2 separate regions of the Homo sapiens genome follow, and region 2 is linked to region 1. Evidence: promoter capture Hi-C in human tissues and cell types (Jung and others, 2019). All regions are on one chromosome and are shown on one strand. The core of a region is centred on a gene start or on the middle of the fragment in contact, and the rest is flanking DNA. Distances in the headings are between cores, read along the strand shown. Region 1 holds the start of DOCK3 (dedicator of cytokinesis 3). Region 2 overlaps DOCK3 (dedicator of cytokinesis 3).

What was found. The method cuts DNA at HindIII sites, captures the fragments that hold promoters and counts their contacts. A contact is called where the count stands out against the background at its distance.
Region 2: a contact is called between a fragment that was not itself captured here and the fragment with the promoter of DOCK3 in region 1, in 1 of the 25 tissues and cell types used here (spleen).

What each region holds. Positions count from the first base shown.
Region 1 is chr3:50,671,962-50,677,000 of GRCh38, forward strand. DOCK3 (dedicator of cytokinesis 3) reads left to right here and starts at 2,966. Exons shown (of 53, transcript NM_004947.5): 1 at 2,966-3,339. The coding sequence starts at 3,303. MIR4787 (microRNA 4787) reads left to right here and starts at 3,119; the gene lies at 3,119-3,202. LINC02019 (long intergenic non-protein coding RNA 2019) reads left to right here. Exons shown (of 2, transcript NR_183733.1): 2 at 1-90. RefSeq lists a silencer at 2,930-3,219. The HindIII fragment of the contact is 18,901 bases long and covers 1-5,039 here.
Region 2 is chr3:51,337,434-51,342,730 of GRCh38, forward strand. It overlaps DOCK3 (dedicator of cytokinesis 3), which reads left to right. Exons shown (of 53, transcript NM_004947.5): 36 at 926-986; 37 at 1,502-1,595; 38 at 3,804-3,952. Among named protein-coding and RNA genes, the nearest start is that of MANF, 45 kb to the right of the region's middle. RefSeq lists an enhancer at 2,436-3,320. The HindIII fragment of the contact is 3,312 bases long and covers 1-3,095 here.

The sequences.
Region 1 (5,039 bases), core at 1,716-4,215:
TAAATTGCTCTATCATGTTTATCTTTTTTATAGCTACTCAATAAGACATTGCAATGAATTTTTAATTAAAACCAATATGTCTATAACAAAGAAATTTAATTAATTAGAGTTTCTGAGTTTGCCGATTTGTGACTTGCTGAGGTAAACATCTCAGTTCTCTCTTCCAACCTATTTCATTATGGTCTCAGAAAACGTACAGGGAGATTATTCACCCAAGAGTGTATGTTAAATTCATGTTAGGTGGTAGGCACTATGTTAGTCTCTGTGTAAGGTAAAAATAATTGAAGAACAATCCTTGTCACTGAAGAAAAAAACAGATGTTTGCCAATGTGAGAAGCAGACCCATTTGATCTCTTGGAGAAGGGTGGAATGAGTAAGTGCTACAGAAAAGGTCATAATGGGTGCAAAAAATCCAGCTGAACTGAGGGCAGTTGGGGAAGCCTTCTTCAGGAAAGTGGCCCTGAGACAGCTCTTGAAGCATGATGCAGATGTGTGGGTTTCAAGAGTAGAGGACACAAGCTGAGGGACACTCTATGCAAAAACCCAGCCAGAACAAGGCAATGGTCTGAAGTTGGGATGGCCCTGGGGAATTCTGGGAAAGTAGTTTCCAGGAGGTGACAGGGTCAGAACGCAGACCTTCAGGTGGTGAGAATCAAATGAATTACATTGAAATAAAAGGATTTGGAATGGATGATTCTCCTCTGTAGTCAGATGGAGAGAGGAGGAAGAGAGAGGGAATGGGGGGATGAGGGTACCAACAGGGCAGGTCTTCCTGGGACCGCAGGAGTCTGTGGAGCAGGTCAGGGTGAAAATGGGAGACAGGGCAATGATAGTTGGGGATCCTGAGAAGTAGCAGGCAGTGAGCCTGGTGGTGGCGAGAACACAAAGAAGAGCAGTTGGAGAGGAGGGGAGGTTACTGTGCTGAGGGTCTCGATTTTCAGAGGCAAGCTGGAAGGCAGCTCATATGCTGAGAGAGTGTGTGTGTGGTGTGTTGAGTGGACTGGGAGCCTGAGGAAGGAAAGGATCAGAGCAGATGCTAGGGGGATAAGAGAGCAGGTGCATGGTCCTGCTGAAGGCCAATGTGTGCTATGCCCTTTTGCTTCAACTCACAAAAACAATCTAAATTTATACAAACAGCAAGAGTGTAGGAGTCCAGGCTTACTAAGTCCCTTCCTTCTCACTTTGGTCCCTTCTTTTCCCTTCCCTGGTTGGGTTTAATGCCCTTCCACCCTGGAGCTGAGGTGTGCAATCATGGAGAATTTTCTTCATCTGGGAAAGCCATAATCTAAGATGGATTCAGACTGGGAACAAGAGTATAAACTTTGGAAAAACTGGCCCTTAGGCTCTGTGACTGTCATCACATACAGCAGACAAGGGAGTGAACTTAGAGGATGAAATAAGAGCTTTAAGGTTGTTCCCTGAAGGCCTGCGTAGCTCAGCCCCACTTGTTGAATAGCTACCTGGAGAGTTTTGTAAGAATGTGGCTTCATTCCATAGAATACTTCCATGGTGGCCACCGGGGAGGGGTCTATCTTCTTGGAACAGTTAGCTCTTTCGTTATGTTCTTGGACACCCCTGCTACCCCTAAAAAGAAGTGTACCTGGCTATTGAGAAATTCTATCATTCACAGAACAGACATTTTTCTGGGCGGGAGTGGGCAGCTATGATTAGTGAGAGGAGGAGCCTAAAGGTCCGAAGGTGGGAAGGGGTGGCCATAACCCAGGGGAGCACAGTCAGGCCTGGGAGGAGTTACCAATCATGACACTTTGAACGAAGAATCAACAAGATCTGTTGATTGCAAGATATTCTTCTATTAGTCTGGCTTCCCATGCAACAACTATACAACAGGTGCTGGGTTGGTGGTGAGGGTTTAGAAAGTTGATTTTAGCCTGGAGCTTGCCTTCTGGGAGCTGACAGTCTTATAAGGGAAATAAGACAAACCGAACATAGCTCCAATTCCAGACAAAGAAGGAAAGGAGACTATGGGTCAGGGCAGGCTTCCTGGAGGTGAGGGGCTGAGCTGGGCTTTGAAGAGTGGTGGTGTCTGAGAGTGCTAGTGAAGGATGACACCAGGGTTTTGACTTAGTAGTGCTAGTGACAGAGATGGGCAAATCTGCTGGGATTAGAGCATGTGGTCCAAATGTAGGTGGAAAGGAGAAGTCCTGCAGTTCCTGTTCTTTGGTAAGTGGTTGACTTGGGGGTCACAAGGTGACATTTACAGGCATCAGAATGAATGGATTCTTAGGGAGGAGAGAGAGGAGGAAAGTTTCCGGTAGGAGCCAGTTCTTAGGGCTCCAAGGGAGGCAGACACCCAGGAGCAGCAGATGCCGTGTCCTGGGTAGGAACACGAAGGGCCCAATGAAGCTCTTCCTTACTAGCAAGGCGGCTGTTGATTGTTCTGGCCCCAAACATTCACCACTCAGGCCATCTCAGAGAAGCAAGAACCCAGGAGGTGTCAGCGGCCTCAGCCCACAGGGGATCCAGGAGAGAGGGGCACGAGTGCACCCCACCTGGTTCCCTCGTGGCGACTCCATCCTGCGGGCCCTGGGAATGCACAGGGTGGCTCCGGGGACCTTTCCGACAGCACTGTGGGTGACACTGGGATGGGTCTGAAAATGGTGTCGTGTCCTCCTTTTCTGGATCTCCCCTCTCCGACCAGGAGGCCTGTGGCCATCTCGGGGCGCAGGCAGGAGGCACTGGAAGCGGAAGCGAGTGGGGAGTCCGGGTAGAGGGAGTCGCCCACCTGACCGGCTTCGCCCCCTCCGGGGTTTGCTGCAGCTGAGGGCCCCGGACCAGCGATTCTAGAAGCCGGTCCGGGGCCGGGCAGTCCAATAGCTTCTCGCGGATTTCCCTCCGCTGGCGCGCAGCAGCGGCGCGTGGATTCGCGCGCGGGCTCGGGACGGCGCGAGCCCGGGCAGCGCGAGCCCCTGCGCGGCAGGGAGTGGCGCATGCGCGGGCGTCCTGCGAGCCCGCTGGGGCGAGCCGAGCCGCGGCGGCGCCGGGAGCCGGGCGGCGGAGCTGTGAAGAAGCAAGCGGCGGCACGGGAGCAGCGGCGACGGACAGGTGGCGAGCCTTCGCCCGCGCCGCCAGGGGCTGCTGGGCCACCCGCGGAGCCTCGCGGTCCAGACGTGGCGGGGGTGGCGGCGGCATCCCGGACGGCCTGTGAGGGATGCGCCGCCCACTGCCCCGCGCCGCCTGACCGTCCCCGCCTCGACTCGCGGTGCGCCACAGCCGGGCCCGCGGCCGTCCCCGCCGCGTTGTCGCCCGGTCGCCGCGCCCGCGGGGCCGCGCCCGGCACGGCCATGTGGACCCCCACGGAGGAGGAGAAATACGGCGTAGGTAGGTGAGGCTCAGGCCTGGCCGTGGCGGGGGTTCTGGGGGACGCGCCCAGCTCCCGGCCCCGCCTGGATTCGCATCCTCGTGCCCCCGCCACTGCCCGCAGGCTGCGCGGCCTCGGCGCGGGGCGAGCGCGGGGTGGGGGCAGGTGCGGGTGCGGGTGCGGGTGCGGGGGTGGGCGCGGGTCTCTGTGCAGAGAGGGCGGCAGGGGGCGCTGGCGGTGCGGCCTTGGCAGGTGCGGCCCGCGGGAGGGGTGGGCAAGGCCCGGGCAGTTGCCCGAGGTTTCTGGTGTGGGCCACGGGGCAATTTTACCCGATAAACCAAATTCTGGGAATATGTTTTCTCCCCTCCAAAAGCTCGATTTTAATGAGTTTCCGCACCTGAATTGATGAGCCCGATGGCTGTTTATTTTTGATCTGGAACCTTACAAGAAAACGGATGAAAAACGTTGACATCATTTTCCCAGTTCAAAAATTTGGACATTTGACTGCAAATGTTTGATCTGTTTTAATTTGTTTTGCCTTTAGTATTAGAAATAATACCTTACGATGGGAAATGTTTTTGGACATGTATCAATGTTTATACGGTTTTTTTTTTAAACCCTGTTTTCAGATGAGACCTTATTCCTCTTAGAAACCTTTTTTTAATGTTGTAAGTGTTAAACTCCAGAAGCTAAATAATTCTTACAATATTCAACTTCTTTAAAAAGAATATTCAGTAATTTAAAGTATTGAATGTTTTACAATGTTAGTGTTTTGTGGCAATTACATGATAGAGTTAAGCCTCATTGCATCACCTATCATCTTGTTCAGTTAGAAACAGATTTAAAATGTTGAGTGTACAGGTTTTGTTTTTCCTAAGCTCGTAATGGAAAATTTTAGATAGGAAACCTGTCTAAACATAGATTTTTGTTTCCCATCTTTACCGCAATTTAATCAAGATTTAGTTCACAATTCACTACAAAATAACTTGAAACTGCAGTGGTAACGAATGTTTTGGAATGCTATCAGGCAGGTTATCGTGTGAAAATTGAATTTATTTAAATTCGAGGACCAGCAGAGAGGTCTTCTATTCTGGTAGAAGATCTTGTTTTAAAAGGTAACTTTCTGAAACAATTAGGTATGTTAGGATGGAGGTGATAAAGGGAGCTCTGGTCCTAGAGTCTCTATTGAGAAGGAATTGAGAAATGATGCGAAGAGCTGGGATTCACCTCTAGGGACATTTTACCCCTTCTCTTAGAGTATTCCCTGAATACTGAGTTGATTCTGTGAAGTGAGGAGTTGGTGGTTTATCTTCTCCATAACTCGCTCCCAGAACTGCTGAACTAGAATAACAAATAATTGATGTGAGTGGTCAACTCTCCAGTGGCACCCCATGATTGATTTTTTTGGAGGGGGGAGGAGCCCTATTTTGGCGGGGGTGGGGGCGTGGGGGGAGGAGCCCTTGAATAGTGGACAAAGTGGAATTCAGAGTCCTAGCTTCTCTTTACTGGTGGTGTGGGCAAGTAATTTAACATCATTTAACGTCATTTTATTAATGTATAAATTGGGGATAATGTTTACCTATCTTACAGGATTGTGAAAGTGAAATGAGAACGTGCTGAATGCTTAATAGTTTCTTCTTTTCCCTTAGTATTTAGACTAATAACACTAAGTGTGTTCTGAGACAGAGCCAGTGCAAGGTAATCAAGATAGGTACATGTG
Region 2 (5,297 bases), core at 190-2,689, 660 kb after region 1:
CTCTCCAACCTGACCCTAGAAATCTGTATAAACCCCTTTCTGCAGCTTTTCCCCAGAGCTGCTAATACACAGCTGCACAAGAAACTAGATCTTCTCCATAGCAGTGTGGGCTGCTATGGAAGGAGACACATCAGGCAGATGGCACTCTGGCTGGCATAGGAGATGTCTTGCTGGATTCACCAGTCTGGTTCTCATTCTCCTTCATCTCCTTGTGCCAGGCTTCTGCTCCTTTCCAGAGGAGCTTGGCTTTGACCAACCCTCTCCCTATCTTGGAAAAGATCCATTCTCAGTGTTCCTATTTTCCTATCTCTCACAGGCCATCCCTGACCCCTCCTACACCCAGACCCTGCTAGGTATGAATGCAGCTCAGTCCTGGCTGATGCTTTAAGCACGAGACCTGCTGCTTCTGGTGATAGATGGCTCCAAACACTAGTACACAGGAAGGAAACCATAGGGAGAAATGTCAACTAGGTGGTGAACATGTACAGAGCCCTGAAGCTAGGGCCCTGAAGTGGAGGGTCTTGGCTTCTATTCAGCACTCCTACAAAATGAAACCTGCCCTTTAAGGAGAATTCTGTGCCTCCCTTTTTGGGAAGTTGAGGATTTGGCCTTCCACTTAATTCATATACCCTTTTGTGCCAAGGACATTGGTAGGTGCCACTTAATACCCTGATGTAGCTCTGGGCTCTCTCTGTGCTCTGCCACCAGAATAAGGGGCTCAGTTGAACAGAGATCTTTGAGCCCTGAGAGTGGTTCCAAAGCTAAAGGAGCTCACAGTAGAGTCCTTATCTATGGAAGCAGTTCCTGTTGGAGGCCATCTCAATCTGGGATTTGGTCATACTAATGCCCCAGTGATAGTACAGTTCTATGTGTTGTCTCAAGGCCCCACTTCATATCTGGTGCTCATCTGTGCTCTCTCTTCCAGGGACTGCATGAAAGGAGAGGAAACAGAGAATAAGAAGATAGGCTGCACTGTTAACCTGATGGTGAGAGGACATGGGCCCTGACTTCTCTCTGCCTACTGAAATGGTTTCTGTCCTGCACTGTGATTGGCTTGGCCCTTCTACAATACATGGCTGCAGGCCTAAGGGTTTGAATCAGGACATCAGCTCTGTTACTGGTATCTTAGAGGCCTGCACTCCCCCAAACACATTCCTACTTGGGGAAGGAATGAAACGAGCTTCTCTTTGGATAGAACTCTAGCCTGGCCTCTTGGCAAGGACCCACTAACCCTGACATACCCAATTCACAGTCAACCCTGACTCCTGATCTGCCCTGATGCTTTTCCTCTTAACACTACCCAGGGCTCCCATAGACCTGCCAGTGGTTCCACCCACAGCAGGTGTTCCTTCTGGCTGGTGCTTTCTCCTTCTGGTGCTGTCTGCCTCCAGGGCCTGCCCTCCCCCTCCTGCCCAGCACACCCACGGCTATGGCCAGCTGCCCAGAGCTTGGCTATGGCTTCCACAGGTAGTTGACAGGTGTTTCCTTCTCTTTATTGTAGAATTTTTACAAATCTGAGATTAACAAGGAAGAAATGTATATCCGCTACATCCATAAGCTTTGTGACATGCACTTGCAGGCCGAAAACTACACAGGTAAGTGGGGAGAAGAGAGAGCCATGCCTGACCATGAGGACAAACTGAAGGGATTTGTACAATAGGCAGAGAAAGGCTTCAGGCTGGTGCCTGCCAGATCTCAGCAGAATGTTGGGGCTTGTGCTATCCCCTCACCTCACTCATTTCCCTCAACTCCTTTGTGGCACATGGTAGAGAGAAAGCAGGCAGAACTTCCACTTGTGCCTTTGTGCCATGTCATCCACTACTTGAGTCTGTTTCACTCTTCTTCCCTCCTATCCACCCCTCTGAAGTCTCAAGGGTGACCTCCAAATTCTGGTGCACCAGGTTCAGAGCATCCTGAGCTCACTGTCACTCCTTATGAACAGAGAGCCTTTTTTAGGACTTTCAAAGCTGGAGCTAAGGTTATAACAAAGGAATATCCCCCTAACCCTGGAACTTCCAGAACTCACTAGCAGACCTTCCTTGCAGGCTAGGCTCTTCAGACCCTGCAACTGCATAGCAGCCTCACATTGTGCACTCAGTGTAGAGTATAAAGAATGTTCATCTGACTTCTTGACAGGCCAGATAGGGCTCCTTTCATTGTATCTACAATTTAATCCAATATCAAGGCCTTTTCTAACTAGAACAAATTTTAAAGCATTTCAAAGTGGCTGTCACATCTGTTTACTGAGAACCACGCTGAATCGGGGTTACGTGCATGCATGTGTGTCCTATCTGATTGACTTATGCCATCGTTCCCCCCAAAGAGCCATTTTCTCCACTGTGGTGACCAGCCATTATGTCTTAGCTCTTAGGCGATAGGACTTGAATTTGTGTGATAGATCAGGAAATTTAAGCTATCCTTGTCTGCAAACGCTACTGCAATTAGATAGATTTGTAGAAACAGAGAATCCTCCTTCTTTATCTCTAGCCGTTAGAGAGTGTTTGGCATAGATGGTATCTTATCTGATAGCATAGCTTGGCAAGAATTAAATCTAAAATGACTGGGCTTTGAATCTTAAATTCAGCTGACTAATAAAATAAAATGACTGGGCTGAGTCTACCATTCTCTGCATCCACTTGCACCCATGATCCCAGCAACCCTCTGAGAGGGCATTGAAGAGAAAGACTTTGATAAATGTTATGTATCAGTAGAAGCATTTGCTAAACTCCTAGGAAACGGGGCCATGACTGAGAGGCTGGGTCAGGGATTTTAACAGAGAAAGAGTGCTAAGCCTTGTCTCTGATGGCTCAGGGAATGACATCTGAAAAGAATATAGGCAAGGAAGAAAAAGACGTTCCATGGTTTCCTAAGCTCCAGAGGGAGGCCCTGAGTTCCACAGGGCTTGTCCCTAGAGAGAAAAGGCTTCCTGATCCCATGAGGAGGCGTGTACATTCCTTGGCAGGAAGTTCCAGTGGCAAGGGCACAGGCAAAAAGGCAAGGATGAGGAGGAGCCTAAAGAGTGGACACAGGCAAGTGGGCCTAGCTAAAACTGGAAGTGGGTCAATAAATGGTTAGAAATGAGATTCTTCATAGTCATGGGGAGTAGATTTGAGTAGGGCCTTGAAAGCCAGGCAGAAGCACAGAAGCTAGAACTAACTAACTTGCCAGTAGGAGATGCCCACTAAAAATGAACAAATAGAACAGAGAGAAAACTGTGTAATGAGGCCCCTGAGCCGTGGCTGTGATTCAGTATGACTCATCCCTTGGAATGTAGGGAGCCATGGTATTTCACTGCTGTTGTTTTACATAACCTTCTCTAATTGTTCCACACATAGAGTAAGATGTTGCCAGGCCTTCACTCTGGGTCTAGTATCAATTTAGGTTCCTTTGGTAATGGAGCCCTAAGAGCCAGTTCTGAGAAGGTTGGAAAGGAAGCTGTAGTCAGTTGAGCAAAAAGGAACCCAAGAGCTCTCTCTGATGTGTCAATGTCTCCCAAAGCAAGGCAGCCTGTGCACAGATTTTTGGGTAGCTGAACCATTCTTTATTAATCTGGAGGCTGGAACAGGTGACCAGGCCATGGAAGGAAGGTGTCTACCAGAATATTTGGCTCCTTCATGCTGTGGACAAGGGTTATTGGCTTGTTGAGCAGCCCTACTGTTTCATCTTTAGTATCCAGTGTCCCCGACCTGGGCTGCACATGACTTGCGCTGGCATTCTGCCCAGCATAGTCCTCTGACACCAGGCTGCTCCTGGGCCTCTGAGCAAGGGAAGCCCCTGGACCTCCATGCTGTCTGTCCCCACAGAGGCCGCATTTACCCTGCTCCTTTACTGTGAGCTGCTGCAGTGGGAGGACCGGCCACTACGGGAATTCCTCCACTACCCATCGCAGACAGAGTGGCAGCGGAAGGAGGGACTGTGCCGGAAGATCATTCACTACTTCAACAAAGGCAAGGTATGCATCATTAGGCAAGCCCTTTAGCCCTTCAGCTTCTGCTGTGATGCATGGCATCTTGACACCATAGGGTTAACAGCAGCTGCAGGGGGTAGTGTGTGGGGTGGTGAGTGGGTGGGTGCCTATCTATGTGCCTAAGATGTGGAGGCAGCATGATTTTCTCTGAGGGAGAAAAAGACAACAGCCTAATTCTGTGGCTTGAAAGCCATATCCAGATTGTAGGTGTTAGAGACTACCCTACATACTAGCTTTGCATATCTATAAATATGAATGCTTCTACAGCAGGGGCTTCTGGAACCCTGTTTGTTTTTATTGGATTTACTTAAAGAACTGATACGGCTTTCTAATCTGCTGCCATATAAAATATGAGTGGTAGAAATGAATGGATTTTAACCACAGCCAAAGGCGGCCTAAACTGCCTCTTACTGGTATGTGTTCTTTTCTTAGATTTCCCTTCTCTACAGCACAGCCTGGGCTCCTCTCATATTGGGGTTATTTTCCATCAAACTACTTTCTATGGGATTGGCAGCATTGTCAGCACTGGTTTAGGCTTCCTTGGGACTTCCCAGCCATTCTCCTCCCATCTCTGGGAGAGCTCTGTGTGGCGCCCTCTGACTACCTACTGTTAGATGGGGCCCTTGTGCTGGAAAAACTTGTTGAAGCCATTTTCTCATTACTAAGCTTTGAGCACATTTTAAAGCTGAAATAGGGTCATTCATGGAACTGTAGTAGCTGAGCCCCCAACTCAAATGGAAATTGGTTTTTGAGATGAGTTTTTTCATCAAAAAGAAAGATTTAAACATTAATGGCTTTTGTCTATAAATCAGAAAACATTCTTCAGTTTTACATAACATGGGGGACTTCTATGTTTGTCAAAAATATTCACTCAGAAAACATTTCCCCATACAGAGAATGCACTGGTAAGCAAGAACCTTTCCAAAAGCGCAGAAACTCTTATGTAACCTAGCCCAGAAAGGATGCCCATGCTCAGCTCTCAGCCAGCCCATGCAACTGATCCACAATGCTGACCCAAAGCCTCTGGTCCTTGCTGATCCAGCGCCTGACACAGAGCCCCTCACATGCAGTTTTAGGCCTATTTTCCTGGCACCTGGCTAACCTGGAGCTGCCCCTCACCCTCATGCCCAGCAAGCCCTCCTAGCTCACAGGGAATGACATAAGCGTGGTGTGAGTACGCATGTGTGCTTCTAGTGCATTCATTCTCATTTCTTTCCATGGGCACAGAGTACAGAGTGGAGAGTTATCCTAATCTGACTGAGTCTACCCGTGGGATGCATGAGCATTGATGGTCCCCTATTCATCCCACATTATAGTAATGCATAGAAAA